Linked DNA regions of Homo sapiens: region 1 is linked to region 2. The links are contacts of gene promoters, found by promoter capture Hi-C in human tissues and cell types (Jung and others, 2019). All regions are on one chromosome and are shown on one strand. The core of a region is centred on a gene start or on the middle of the fragment in contact, and the rest is flanking DNA. Distances in the headings are between cores, read along the strand shown.

The links. The method cuts DNA at HindIII sites, captures the fragments that hold promoters and counts their contacts. A contact is called where the count stands out against the background at its distance.
Region 1: a contact is called between a fragment that was not itself captured here and the fragment with the promoter of EHF in region 2, in 4 of the 25 tissues and cell types used here (adrenal gland, lymphoblastoid cells, mesenchymal stem cells and 1 more).

The regions. Positions count from the first base shown.
Region 1 is chr11:34,706,590-34,713,213 of GRCh38, forward strand. All of the region lies in intron 1 of LOC102723568 (a long non-coding RNA gene), which reads left to right. It also overlaps the pseudogene NDUFB8P3. Among named protein-coding and RNA genes, the nearest start is that of EHF, 89 kb to the left of the region's middle. The HindIII fragment of the contact is 4,531 bases long and covers 1,432-5,962 here.
Region 2 is chr11:34,615,432-34,622,342 of GRCh38, forward strand. It overlaps EHF (ETS homologous factor), which reads left to right and starts at 5,662. Exons shown (of 9, transcript NM_012153.6): 1 at 5,662-5,797. RefSeq lists a cis regulatory region at 3,563-3,962. The HindIII fragment of the contact is 9,385 bases long and covers 728-6,911 here.

The DNA.
Region 1 (6,624 bases), core at 2,447-4,946, 89 kb after region 2:
TTTACAGTCTGGGCTTATTTGTGCCCATCTTTCTTGGGAAGGCTTTCCAGCTATTCAGAGAGACTTGGTCCCCAAGCCCCAAATTGCTGTGGTTCTTGTAGACTTGTACAGGTACCGCCTTGGTGGTTTTGGATAAGAGCTGGAAGAATTCTCTGGATTATCAGGCAGAGACTCTTGTTCTCTTCCCTTACTTTCCCTCAAAGAAATGGAGTCTCTCTCTCTCTGTGCTAAGCCAACTGGGGCTGGGGTGAACCTTTGTGACCTTTGTGACCACCACCACTGGGGCTGTGCTGAGTCAGACCTAAAGCCAGCATAGCACTGAGTCGTGCCCAATGCCTGCTGTAATCACTACCTGGCTATGGCCTATGTTCACTGAAGGCCTTCTTTGGGCCCTACAGTCAGCAAGTGAGGAAGCCAGCCAGGCTTATGTCCTTCCCTTCTGGCCCAGAGCAGGTCCAGAAATTCTGTCTAAGAGTCTAGGCCTGGACTCAGGAACCCCAAGAGCCTGCTTCATGCTCTACCCCACTGTGGCTGAGCTGTTATCTAAAGTTCAAGACAAAGTCTCCTTTACTTGCACTCTGCTTTTCTCAAGCAGAAGATCTTTCACCCTAGCCACCACAGCTGGGAATATACTGGGTCACACCTGTAGCCAGCATGTCTCAGAGTCTCAACCAAGGCCCATGGTGTACTACTTGGGTATTCTTATTCGTTACTCAGGGCCCAAAGCCTGTTTAGTCAGCAGGTGATTAATTCTGTCAGGATTAGTTCTTCCCTTTAAGGCAGTGAGTTTCCTGCTGGCCCAGGTTGTGTCTAGAAATGTCTGTGAACTAGGGCCTGGAATAGGGGCCTGACAACTCTGCCTGGTGCACTATCCTATTGTGGATGAGCTAGTATCAAAGACACAAGACAAATACCACTTTACTCTTCACTCTCCTCTCCTCAAGCAGAAGGAAGGAGTTACTATCATTGCTACAAGCTGCACTGCTTGGGTTTCACAAGCTTGGGTTTCACAAGTGGTGGCACAAGCAACACCCTTAGCTGCCCCAGCTGGTGTCTTCCTAGGTCACGTGCTGCCTTAGTCTACTGGCTGTAAGTCCAGCCTTAGCACTAGGCCTCGCCTAGAAATTGCGGTACTTGTGTCCTAGACTGCATTTCAAGTTTACCTAGAACCCAAGAGCACTTTAGCCTGCAGTGGCAAGTTTTGCTGAAACTCAAGTTCCAACCACTGGGATGGGCAATTTCCCTCTGGCTGGGGCTGGTCCACATGCTCCTTCTGTGAGTGGGTGCCAGCTGAACCAAGCAAGGTTTTGCTCCCTGCTGTGACAGGGCAGCACTGAGTTCAATGCCAAGACCCCTAGTCACTGTGCTTGCCCTGCCTCAAGTGCACAGATTGTTTCTCTATGCCATGTGGCCACTGCCAGGGAGTGGAGGAGAAGTGGCATAGGCAATTCAAGACTGTCTTTCCTACCCTCTTCAATGTCTCTTTCAGCAATATGAAGTTAAAATCAGGTACTGTGATTGCTCACCTGATTTTTGTTTTTTGTGATAGTGCTTTTTTGTGTGTAGTTAGTTGTTAAAATTTAGTGTTCCTTTGGTGGGGGGATAATTGTTGCAGGCTTCTGTTTGGCCATCTTGCTTTGCCCGCTCATTTTCTTGATAATCTGTACCTTTTGTCTTTGTTCTTGATCAGTCTAGATATGTCAACTTCAATACTCTTTTCAAAGAACAGCTTTGTTTTAATCAATTTTCCCTATAGTTTGTCTATTTTTTCTCATTGAATTCTGTCTTATTTTTATTATTTTCTTCTTTCTTGTTATTTTGGGTTTAGTTTGCTTTTATTTCTCTAGCTTACTAAGGTAGAAGCTTAGATAAACTATCTCACATTTTTCTTCTTTTAAGGTATACATTTAATAATATAAATTTTCTTATTATTACTACTTTAGCTGCAGCTTTAAAGTCTTCATATTTTGTTTTCATTTTTATGCAGTTAAAATGTTTTCTAACTGCCTTTATGATTTTTTACTTGACCCATTAATTGCTTAGAAATGTATTGTTTAATTTACATATGCTGTTCAGTTTCCAAAGTTGGCATTATGCAGATGTCTTTGTTATCAATTTCTAATTTCATTCCATCTTGTTGAAAGAACAACTCCATATGATTTCAATGCTTGTGAATTCATTGAAACAGATTTCTATCTCAAAATATGGTTTGTCCTGGTGAATGTTTTATGAACAATGGAAAAGAATACATATTCTGCTGTTGTGTGTAGTTCTATAAATGTCAATTAGGACAGGTTTGGTTAATAGCCTTTTAAAAGTCATCTATATCTTTACTGATATATCTATTTTTGTTATCAATTATTGTGAGAGTAATGCTAGTGTTTCCAGCTATATTTGTTGATTTGTCAATTTCTTTTATTTTTAGTTTCAAATATAGGTTTTGCATCCTGTATTTGAAACTTTTATTAGATGTATTCACTAAAATTAAGATTTTTATTCTTGATAAATTGACCCTTTTATCACTATGAAATGTCTCTTCTTGTTTCTGGTAATATTCCTTATTTTAAAGTCTGCTTTGTTTGATTATAATATAGTCATTCTGGACATCTTTGACTAATGTTTCATGATGTATTTTTTTATCCTTTTATTTTAATTTACCTGCCTTTTTTTTTTTTGGACAGATTCTCACTCTTGTTGCCCAGGCTGGAGTATAATGGCACGATCTTGGCTCACTGCAACCTCTGACTCCTGGGTTCAAGTGATTCTCCTGACTGAGCCTCCCGAGTAGCTGGGATTACAAGCATACACCACCATGCCTGGCTAATTTTTGTATTTTTAGTAGAGATGTGGTTTCACCATGTTGGCCAGATTGGTCTCAAACTCCTGACCTCAGGTGATATGCCTGCCTTGGCCTCCCAAAGTGCTGGGATTACGGACGTGAGCCACCGTGACTAGCCCTGTGTTTTTTTATTTGACCTAGGTTACTTTTAGACCTAATATAATTTTGGGTGAAGTTGGAAGTAGCCAGGGCAGGGGTCCTGGGAATCTAGTGGCTACAAAGGGCAACCCAGAATGTGGTGTCATTGAGTGCATGGCCATCCTTCCACATGATCAAGGACATGCCCCTGGGGTTCTATTCCAAGACCCCAGAAGAATGGGCCACCGCTGCCAAGAAGTATAATATGTGTGTGGAAGACTATCAGCCTTACTTGGATGATGGCATGGAGTATGGTAACTACTCAAAGTTCTTTGACCATTCACAGTAGGAGAGGGATCTGTGGTTTGACTGGGACCACCAAGACTTGAGGTTGAACTGGGGTGAACTGATACACTGGCATCTGGACAAGTATATCAGGAACCATGTGGATATGGCCCTCCACCCCTGTTTCTTGGAATATCATGTTCAATAATCTCTTCAGCTTCCTGACCTTCATGAACTTTATGTTCTATGTAGTGGAGAATTATTCTACCTACCAGCCTGTGGGGCCAAAGCAGTATCCTTTTAATAATCTGTACTTGGGACAAGACAGTGATCCACCAAAGAACCTGAGCTAGTGTTTCACTATGAGATCTAAGGGCTTCATAAGCTTTTGTGCCCTCTACCTAGGACTCCTTAATTCCTAGAAATTTAACTTGAATGAAATCTTTAACAAAACTTAGTGCCATAGGAAAAAATATATACATGTATATGTACATACATAGTTTTTTCTTACTTTCTTATTCATTCTGAAAATCTCTGCCTTTTAAATGCAGTGTTTAGACCACCTACATTTAATGCAATTATTAATTTGATAGTTGTTAGGTCTATTATCTTATGATTTGTTTTACATTCATGCCATGTATTCATTGTTGCTCTTTTCTTTTTCTCATGTCCTATCTTCTTTTAATTAATTTTTTTATTTAAATTTGTCTTTAGTTTTATCTTACTATTTATTCCTGTTTTAACTTTTATTTATACTTTCAGTGCTTAATGTAAAATGTGCAATAATAATCTGCAAATTCTTTCCTACTGTTCTTTGTTATTGTCATAGAATTTATTTTTGTTTGTTGTAAAATCCACAACACATTGATATTACCTTGGCATTAAACAGACAGCTGTTTTTTAACAAAATAAAAAAATAGAGTATAAGTATTTTATTGCCTTACATGTTTAATATTTTCAGTTCTCTTTATTTCTTAATTTATATCCAAATTTATTTATTGTATTAGTGTTCTTCCTCTCAAAGAACTTCTATATCAATTCTTATAATGAAGATGTAATGGTGGTAAGTCTTACCAGCTGTGCTTTGACTGAAATATATTTACTTTATCTCCATATGTGACAGATGTTTTTGCTGGGCTTAGAATTTTAGGTTATCAAAAGTTTTTCAGAGTTTAAAAATGCTATTTTCTCTTCTCACTTGCCTAGATTCTAACAAAAAGGTTACTATCACTCTGATCTTTGTTTCTTTGCATATAGTATGTATACATATTTTAAAGATTTTTCAGATCATCTTTAGTGTTCAGCAATTTGAGTACCACATGTCTTTGTCTTGTATTGTTTGTGCTTGTCTTTCTGGGTTTCATTGAAGTATTTGGATCTGAGATTTATTGCATTTGTAAATATTTTGGCCATATTTCTTGAAAAAAAATTTACCGTTTCTTCTCTTTATAGGACTCCAATTACTTAAATATTAGACCACTTAATATTGTCCCACATGTTACCGAGACTTTATTTCTTTTCAATATTTACTCTCTGTAAGATTCACTGTGAAGAGTTTCTATTGTTCCATCTTCTAGCTCACTAATATTTTCTTATGAAGTGTCTAATCTGCTGTTAATCTTATCCAATGAATTTTCTATTTCAGATATTGTTTTTATTTCTAAAATTTTTATTTGATTTAAAAAATATTTTACATTCCTCTTTCACTATTTTATGTTTTCCTTTAAATATCCGAACATAGTTAAAATAGTGGTTTTAATGTTCTTTTCTGCTAATTATATCATTTTTGTCATTTATGGTCTGTTTCTGTTAACTGATTTTTCTCTTGGTTATGGATCACATTTTCCTGCTTGCAATGTCTAAGACATTTTTACTGGATAATATGATTTATGTGTTGTCCAATATCTGGATTTTGTTGTTTTTCTTTACTTTAATGAGTAAGGTTTTCTTCTGATAGGGAGTTAGGTTTCTTGTGATTCAGTGTTATCTTTTTCAGCTTTGTTTTTAAGCTTATTAAGGTGGATCTAGCATAGCCTTTATTTTAAGAATCATTTAATTTCAAATAAGTTGTAGCTTCATTAATAAGTTTTTGGGGATCTTTACTGAATGTAAAAAGTGATCAGTGAGAATTCTCTACTCTGTTTGAAGGTGGAACCCTTCCTCTGTATATGTAAGCTCTGGGAACCATTCTTCTCATAGATTCTTACTTACTCTTTGACCCAACTCAAGAAGTTTAACTCTATGCATGTGAATCCTAGTATTCAGGAATAGTCAAGAGAGTGTTGATATGGTTTGGCTTTGTGTCCCCACCCAAATCTCATGTCAAGCTGTGGTTGTCAGTGTTGAAGGAGGGGCCGAGTGGGAGGTGATTTAATTGTGGGGGTGAACTTACCCCTTGCTGTTCTTGTGATAGAGTTCTCATGAGATCTGGTTGTTTGAAAAGTGTGTGGGACTTCCCCCTTCTCTCTCTCTCTCTTTCCTGCCCACCATGTAAGACATGCTTGCTTCCCTTTCACCTTTTGCTATGATTGTAAGTTTCTTAAGGCTTCTCCAGCCATGCTTCCTGTACAACTTGTGGATCATGGGTCAATTAAACTTATTTTCTTCATAAATTACCCAAGCTCTGGTATGTCTTTATAGCAGTGTGATAATGGACTAATATAGAAAACTGATATTGAGTAGTGGGGCATTGCTATAAAGATACCTGAAAATATGGAAATGACTTTGGAACTGGGTAACAGACAGAGATTGGAACAGTTCGGAGGGCTGAGAAGAAGACAGGAAGATGAGGGAAAGTTTGGAACTTCCTAGAGATTTGTTGAATGGTTTTGACCAAAATGCTAATAGTGATATGGATATTGAAGTCCAGGCTGATGAGGTCTCAGATGGAAATGAGAAACTTCCTGGGAAATAAAGTAAAGGTCGTTCATGCTATGCTTTAGCAAAGAGATGGGCAGCATTGTGCCACTGCTCTAGGGATCTGTGGAACTTTGAACTTGAGAGAGACGATTTAGGGTATCTAGCAGAAAAAATTTCTAAGCAGCAAAGAGTTCAATAATGTGACCTGGCTGCTTCTAACAACATATGCTTATATGCATTCACAAAGAGATGCTCTTAAATTGGAACTTATATTTAAAAGTGAAGCAGAGCATAAAAGTTTGGAAAACGTGCAGCCTGACTATGCGGTAGAAAAGAAAATCCCATTTTCTGTGGAGAAATTCAAGCCAGCTACATAAATTTGCATAAGTAAAGAGGAGGAGCCAAATATTAATAGCCAGGACAATGGGGAAAATGCCTCTAGGGCATTTCAGAGACCTTCACAGCAGGCCCTCCCATCACAGACCTGGAGGTGTAGGAGGGAAAAATAGTTTCATGGGCTGTTCCTGGGGCCCTGCTGCTCTGTGCAACCTCAGAACATGGCT
Region 2 (6,911 bases), core at 4,412-6,911:
GAACTTCTGACCTCAGGTGATCCACCCACCTCAGCCTCCCAAAGTGCTGGGATAACAGGATGCCGCACCACTGTGCCTGGCCTCTTCTACTTTTTCTTAGAAACATGGAGGGTTAGTTCTCTGGCCACTCATATGAAACTTCATTCCCTGCTAAGGTGGAAGTATTGGAGTTCAAGCTCTACACTTAGTGGAGGGAGTAAATAAGCATTTCCAGAGAGCCCACCAAGTGCCATGCAATCTCCTAATGCTTTGTACTATTTCTCATTTAACCCCCCAAACAGCTCACTGAGTATGTTAATATCCCCAATAAACAGATAGGGAAACTGAGACCTAAAGTTTGAGCAAATATGGCAAAGTTTTCCTAGGCTGTCTGGCTTTAAAAACAATGTCCTTTCACCGCATCAGGCTGCTTCTGAGGAGCAGAGCCACCTTGCTTTTGTAAGTCTGTTGGAATAGGCTCTGAGATGCCACACGTTATCCCAAATAATTAGGCATCTGGATGGAGATTTTATACATTTTCTACTTGGACCTGAGTTTGCTGTCTCTCATGGTTCCTGGGTGAAAGAGGCCAGGCCCTGAGACCTTTACCCAAGGTTGGCTCTACCAAAATATCTTCTTGAGTGAGTTCTCTGGTTGATCATCTGTGGAACAATGTGGGAGCCTACTAAATATGAATGGAAAATGAGGAATGCAAAATGGATGGTTTTCTCCACTATCACCTCACCCTTGGAGGTGTTTGCTGATTTGGTAGATGTGTGGAGGAACTCAGGAGTCTGAATTTGTAAAGGTAATTTGGATGCTTCATTAGCTTAGAAAGGACACAGCAGGGAGAACTATATAGCAGAGAAGGCTGGATGCCTATGAGGGTAGGGAAGGGAAAACAAGGGGGTGGGGCTGTAGCTGCCCTACCTCCGGTCCATATATGGCTGCATTTCTTTAATCTCTTTTACTTTTGGGATTCCATGGTAGTAAACAAAGAGTTCTTATGTTAAAACAATTGCTATCTAATTGTACAGCATGGTGAATATAGTCAATAACAATGTATCATGTATTTGCAAATTGCTAAGAGAGTAGATTGTGTTTTCACCACACACAAAAATGGCAAGTATGTGAGGTAATGCCCATGTTAATTAGCTCAATTTAGCCACTCCACAATGTGTGTGTGTGTGTGTGTGTATATATATATATATATATGTTTATGTATATATACACACACACATATATATGACATGTCAGAATGTCATGTTTTATTCCATAAATATATACAAATTTTATTTGTCAATATAAAAAGAATAATACCTGGAAAAACAAAAAAAAATCCTAAGTGCTATACTTATAAAGAAATCTTCCTCATACAAAAAAGAAGAAATTCTGGCCACAGGAAGGTTGCCTGAAAATGGCCACCTTTTTCATGATTTTCCCTCCCTTTCTGAGACTGAGAAATGAGCCTTCTTGAAGACCCTGATGGAAATACTGTGAAGAAACTAAGACAGTTGGATTCAAGAACCAAAATGCTTATCGTAGCAGTGAGGTTGGCTTGAAGTCAGGGAACAGTGTAAAGCTATTTGTGGGGAAAGATAAGGCCAGAAAGAGATTGATAAAATACAGGCGAGACCAAAGGAACAGGGCAGGGGCAAATTAGTTTAGGCAAGAATAGAGGCGTCTTGATATTAATTAAAATATGGAGGAGGAGTCCAGAAAATTCATCCTTGGTGCTTGGGTAAGTTTAGCAACATGTTCAGATGCCTGAGTTTTGTGTGTGTATGTGTGTGGGCATGCACGTGTGTGTGTACACAGTGGGTCATTCTTCTCAGGAAGAGTGAGCCACTCTCCCCTCCTCCAGCACCAAAGTGGCCCCCACCTTGGCACGCCAGTGGCACATGCCATTGGGCCAGGATTTGCTCAGAATGCAGGCACACAGACATAATGTCAGGAGGCATTGCTGGTGTGTGTCACATCAACCTGTTAGAACAACTGTCAACGTGTGACCTCCCAAACAGAACTCAGGTGCCCCCTTCAGAGACCGTAAAGCTTGTCCTTAGAGGATAATGAAGATCCCCAGGAACCTCATCTAATCCAAAACCAAAAGATTTGGGAAATGTGACCTTTAGAGGGGAGTAGCATTAAGAAGCAAAATGATACTTATTAATTCTGTTGCTTATTTGACTGTAACCAGTATAATAAATGATCATATTCTGCTCGATTTAATTCCCCCTCCCCATAAGTTTCACAAGACCAGAAGGAGTTTCTTCTTCCCATTGGTCTTACATTAATATTCTTGTACGGCTTTCACTAAATAGATGCCGTGTTCTGCCCTGGAGGTAACACCACGTCATTAGGAGGAGATGATAGACAGAAATATATACAAACACACACTTGCTTTCAAAAATAAATATAGGCCCTCTAGTTAAAAGGTATTGTGTAAAGTGTGTGAGCATCCTCTTTCTTGCAAAGCAAGCACACAGCTTCCATTAATCTTGTAGCCACAGCCTGTGTTGGTGTTAAGACTCAGATTCCTTAATGCTTGATACTTGGCTTAAAGAGATTCTTTGTCCTGGCCTTGATTTGGGAATTAAGATCCCTAGGGTTTTTGGTTTTACAGTATGGATCTTCTAGGAGACAACCCGACTGACCTCCGGGTCTCCAGGCCACCACACACAACCTGGTTTGCTTTGCTCTGTTCCCCTTTTCCTCTGTGGGGACCAGCACAGGACTCAACTCAAGGGCTCTGTGTCTGTGCACAGGTTGGAGAGGGTGATAGGGCCTTGACCTGTAGGGACAACCAGGAAGATTTCTATGCAGAGTAATTGGGTTTCTAGAGTTTGTTTCAGTTGATTTGAGGGCAAGCTGCTTGGCCTCTCTCTCTTGATTCTTCCCATCCACAGAATAAAGACAATCAGCTTTGTTTATCACTCTGTTCATTTTGCTATGTCTTTATCAGCCCCCCAGAGAATTCAGGAGCACAGAACAAGTGCTGGAGGTCTCTCTTGCCAGAGTCCTCCTTGAGAACTTACAATGTGTCCATATTAAGGATCTGCTGTGTTTGATGATTTTGTGATTACACTTTAAACTTCTTATCCATAAAGGACATACTTGATATATCTGAGACTTGTAGTAGAAGGCCTTGAGACATCCATCTCATCCCATCATTATCTATCTATCATCTATCTATCTATCTATCTATCTATCTATCTATCTATCTATCTATCTATCATCTATCTATCTATCGCCAGTACTGTCTTGTTGAAGTTGGCAGTAGGGTGAAAGACCTCAAACTCCAAAGGACTTTCCGTATGGATGCAATATACCTGCAATTCTAGCTTTTTTGTGTTTTTTTTTTTAGGTTGGGGGTGAGGGGTATTGTTTTCATTTTTGTTTTTCTTCTGGAAGGTTCAACTAAGACCCAAGTAAAAAGAAGAATCAATACTTAATAAGTACCCAGCAAGTAGCAGGCACACTTTTAGGTACTTTATTTACAAAAAAACCTCCACAAATAAAGTGGCTTGTGAGTATGAGGTGACATCTTTCCCTCCCCTCCCACCATCACTACCCCAATATGACTCGTCTCAATAGCCCTCCAATCTAAAATGGACTAAATACAAGTGGATAAAGAAATGGAGATTTAACCAGAATTCTTCAGCTATAAATTACAGGGCCTATAATTAAAGGTGATTGGGACTGGGTCAGAGAGCCACATCACTTTTGTGGTTGCATTTGAAGTTCACTATCTCTTGACCACACAACCCTAGCCCTTCTACTCCCACCCTGCTGTCTCAGGTTAATCTCAGGCAATGGTGTAAAGAAGGCCAAGTTTGTTTCCCTGGAGTCCCACGGGCTCTAGCAATAATGCTTCCCTTTTCTCATGAGTGCCCCGCCACCCACCCCCCTTCACCATCACTACACACAAATGCCCTGCAGTGGGTGGAATGTAGTTACTTCAGGTTGTGCCTGATTTGTCTCTCAAGCAAAACTCCAGCAGGCCATTCCCTCAGGGCCCTGCTCTCAGATCTGGAACTGATAGACTAATTGGGGCTAATGTGATAATGGGAAATAATGAAATTTGTTGTTTTTATCAGTGTGTATATGGGGCGGGGTTTACATTTGCATTTTCACAGGGCCCTTGGCAAGTTCACAGGGTTGAACAGTTGGGAAGGGTGGGAATGTCTGGGGCAGGTTAGGGAGGCAGAGGGATTTATTAGAACTCCCCTAAACTGCACTGACCAAAGCCTCAAGCCCTTCTTCAAGACCTGCCCAGCTTCCAAGACCTTCCCAAGTCCACCCTTGTTTTCCCACTGAGTCTTTTACACTTTCAGAAACCTCTGAATTTGTGTAGAAACTAGAAAAAATAAGTAAGAAAAGACTAATACTACTGCACACTCACTGTTCCCCCTTAATATAATAACCAGTTTTTATTCTATTCAGTCAGCCTTTGACCATAAGCAGACCTTTTTTTTTCTTTTTAACACAAGTAACTTCTTGGTTTTGATCACAAAATCTTTATCTCTGCCAAATCTCAACTTCCCTTCCCTCTCCCACAAAAGGGAGGCCCGTTGAGTCAAAGAAATCTGCTTAGACACTTTGCTCATGCCAGGCCAGTGTCCTGGAAGGTTCAACAGAGAAAGTTAATGGTTGGGGGATGGTATTTTTCTTTGCTAGGAGCAGTCATTCACCCGTATGGGAGAAGGTACATTTGTGACCCAGTGAAGCAGGTACAGGTAACTCCCCATATGTCCCTTGGCCCAAGGGAATAGAGGTTGCCTGGGTATTTGAATCCGTAGATCCTCCCTAATATTCCACCTTCTTCTTGTCCAAACTGTGCTTTTTTATTTCCAGTTTCAGCATTTTGGTCTTCTCATCTCTAACTCTTATAGGGAGTGTCAATAAACCTTTTAAAAAAGATCATGTAAGTGTCAAGAGGAAGTGAAGAACCTAGATAATCCACCAACCGGATAATCAGCTCTTGCATATTTGAGAGTTGACTGCTTGACCTAAGCATCTCCTCATAAGGTACCCTCCCTCCCAGGACCTTCCCTTTCAAACCTCTCAAGGCTCTTACCTGGGGCCAGGGGAGATAGGCTTTTCAAAGTCCATTGAATTGCCAAGAGTCTCTGTCAAGAAGGCAGTCATGGTGCCTGGAGAGGGAACTTGCTGGGAGCCCCTTCAGAGCCTGGTACTTATAGAGCTAGGGAAAAGATCTTGATGCCAAAGCAGGGTGGACTAAATACAGACTAATAAATGAGACAGGTGCTCAAGAGGGCCCCTCCATACCATCATCTCCTCCAGATTTGGACTTCTACTCACTTTGCTTTTACATTCCCTCTTCCCGATGGTGTCTTTGGTGAGCAGGGTGCTTTTCACCTGAAACAGCCTCTGAGCTGAAAAGAACAGTCACCACCAAATCAATTCCTCATCCATTAACAGGTTGTCTCTCTGTTCTTGAGACACAGGCATTACCTGGTTAGACCTGTTTTGTTTGAACACTAACGTGTGAGTTGGCCAAATGCAAATGAGCCAGTGTTTGTAATCCTTTATTTTATTTTTTTAAAGGGCTGGGTAGCCAATCAGAAGAGGGGGAAGTGACTTAGGGAATTCCCGGTTGGTGGCTTATTGCTTAACATCCTACAAAATGATTTAAAATTATTGTTATATGCATTTATCTTCACTCTGATGAGGGCTCAGACTTGATAACACCCGTGGTGCCCCATCCCTATAGGAGCTGGTGAGATTGCAGCCTGCTGCCTCCCCTCCAACAGCCACAGCTATTGGATTTCCCACCCAGAATCTTTAGGTAAATGAGGTAAGTCCTGATTTTTAAAACTTCTTTTGAATCTGGAATCCAAACACTTGAGTGGAAAGAGAAGCCTGCTTTAAACTGGACAGATGAAACTAGAACAGACTCTTGGAGACGGCTGGCAGGAAGTGAAGCTCACCTTACCTGGGCTTACCTCACTGGGTCAAATCAGAATTTTATTTTGGAGGGCAGGTTGGCTACTTTGGATATTATCTGTGAATTTCCTGCATTGTCTGGACTTCTAATCTCTGTGAATTTAAAAGCCCCCTCGTTTCCCTATGCCTGGGTGGCAAAACCATTCCCCTGGGTTGAATTCTTCTGGAACAAATAGGCAGCTAGAGATAGGTGGCTCTGATATAGCTCAGAGAAGAAGTGGTTGGCTAAGTAGCTGTTAGGGCTCAGAGTACACGGTCTCGCTTTCTAGAGATGTCTTCTGCTGGTAATTTTTCTGACTTATGAGCTACATGGAAAGGCCAATTTGTTTTTAATATGTTCCAGGACTGGAAAATGGCTAGAAATAGGCAAGAACATACACAATCACACTGGAAAAAGTGGCCAGGCAGCCAAGGCAGGCAGAGGTATTGGGGAGAGCTGAATATCTACAAAAACAAAAATTCAGAAAAAACAAAAATCAATTTTGGCAAAGGGCTTCACTGTATAACAAGGGGACAAGCTAACCCTTTGTTTACAAACTAACCCTTTGTTTACTCCATTTTGTCCAGAAAATACAACAATCAGTTTTGGCAAAGGGCTTCACTGTGTAACAAGGGGACAAACTAACCCTTTGTTTACTCCATTTTGGGAGACTATGATCAGACAGGCAGTTGTGACTCAGCAGCAACAAATGCCTTCTGAGACAGGGATTCTTTTGATTTTGCTTGGACATTGTGGAGAAGTGTTAGCCCCAATGTGGACTGATCTGGGAACAGTGGGAAATTAACTTCTTGTTGGTAAATATCAGGCTGAGGTGAGAAAGCGACATTTTCACCGTCCATCTTTGCTGATTTACCATGCTCCCAGGATGGTGGGAGTGTGTGTTTTTAAGATGGAGAGTGTATGCTTCTGGGTTCAAGTTCACAGGTGTCTCTGCTGGTTATCTGCACTCACCTTGGTAACAGGG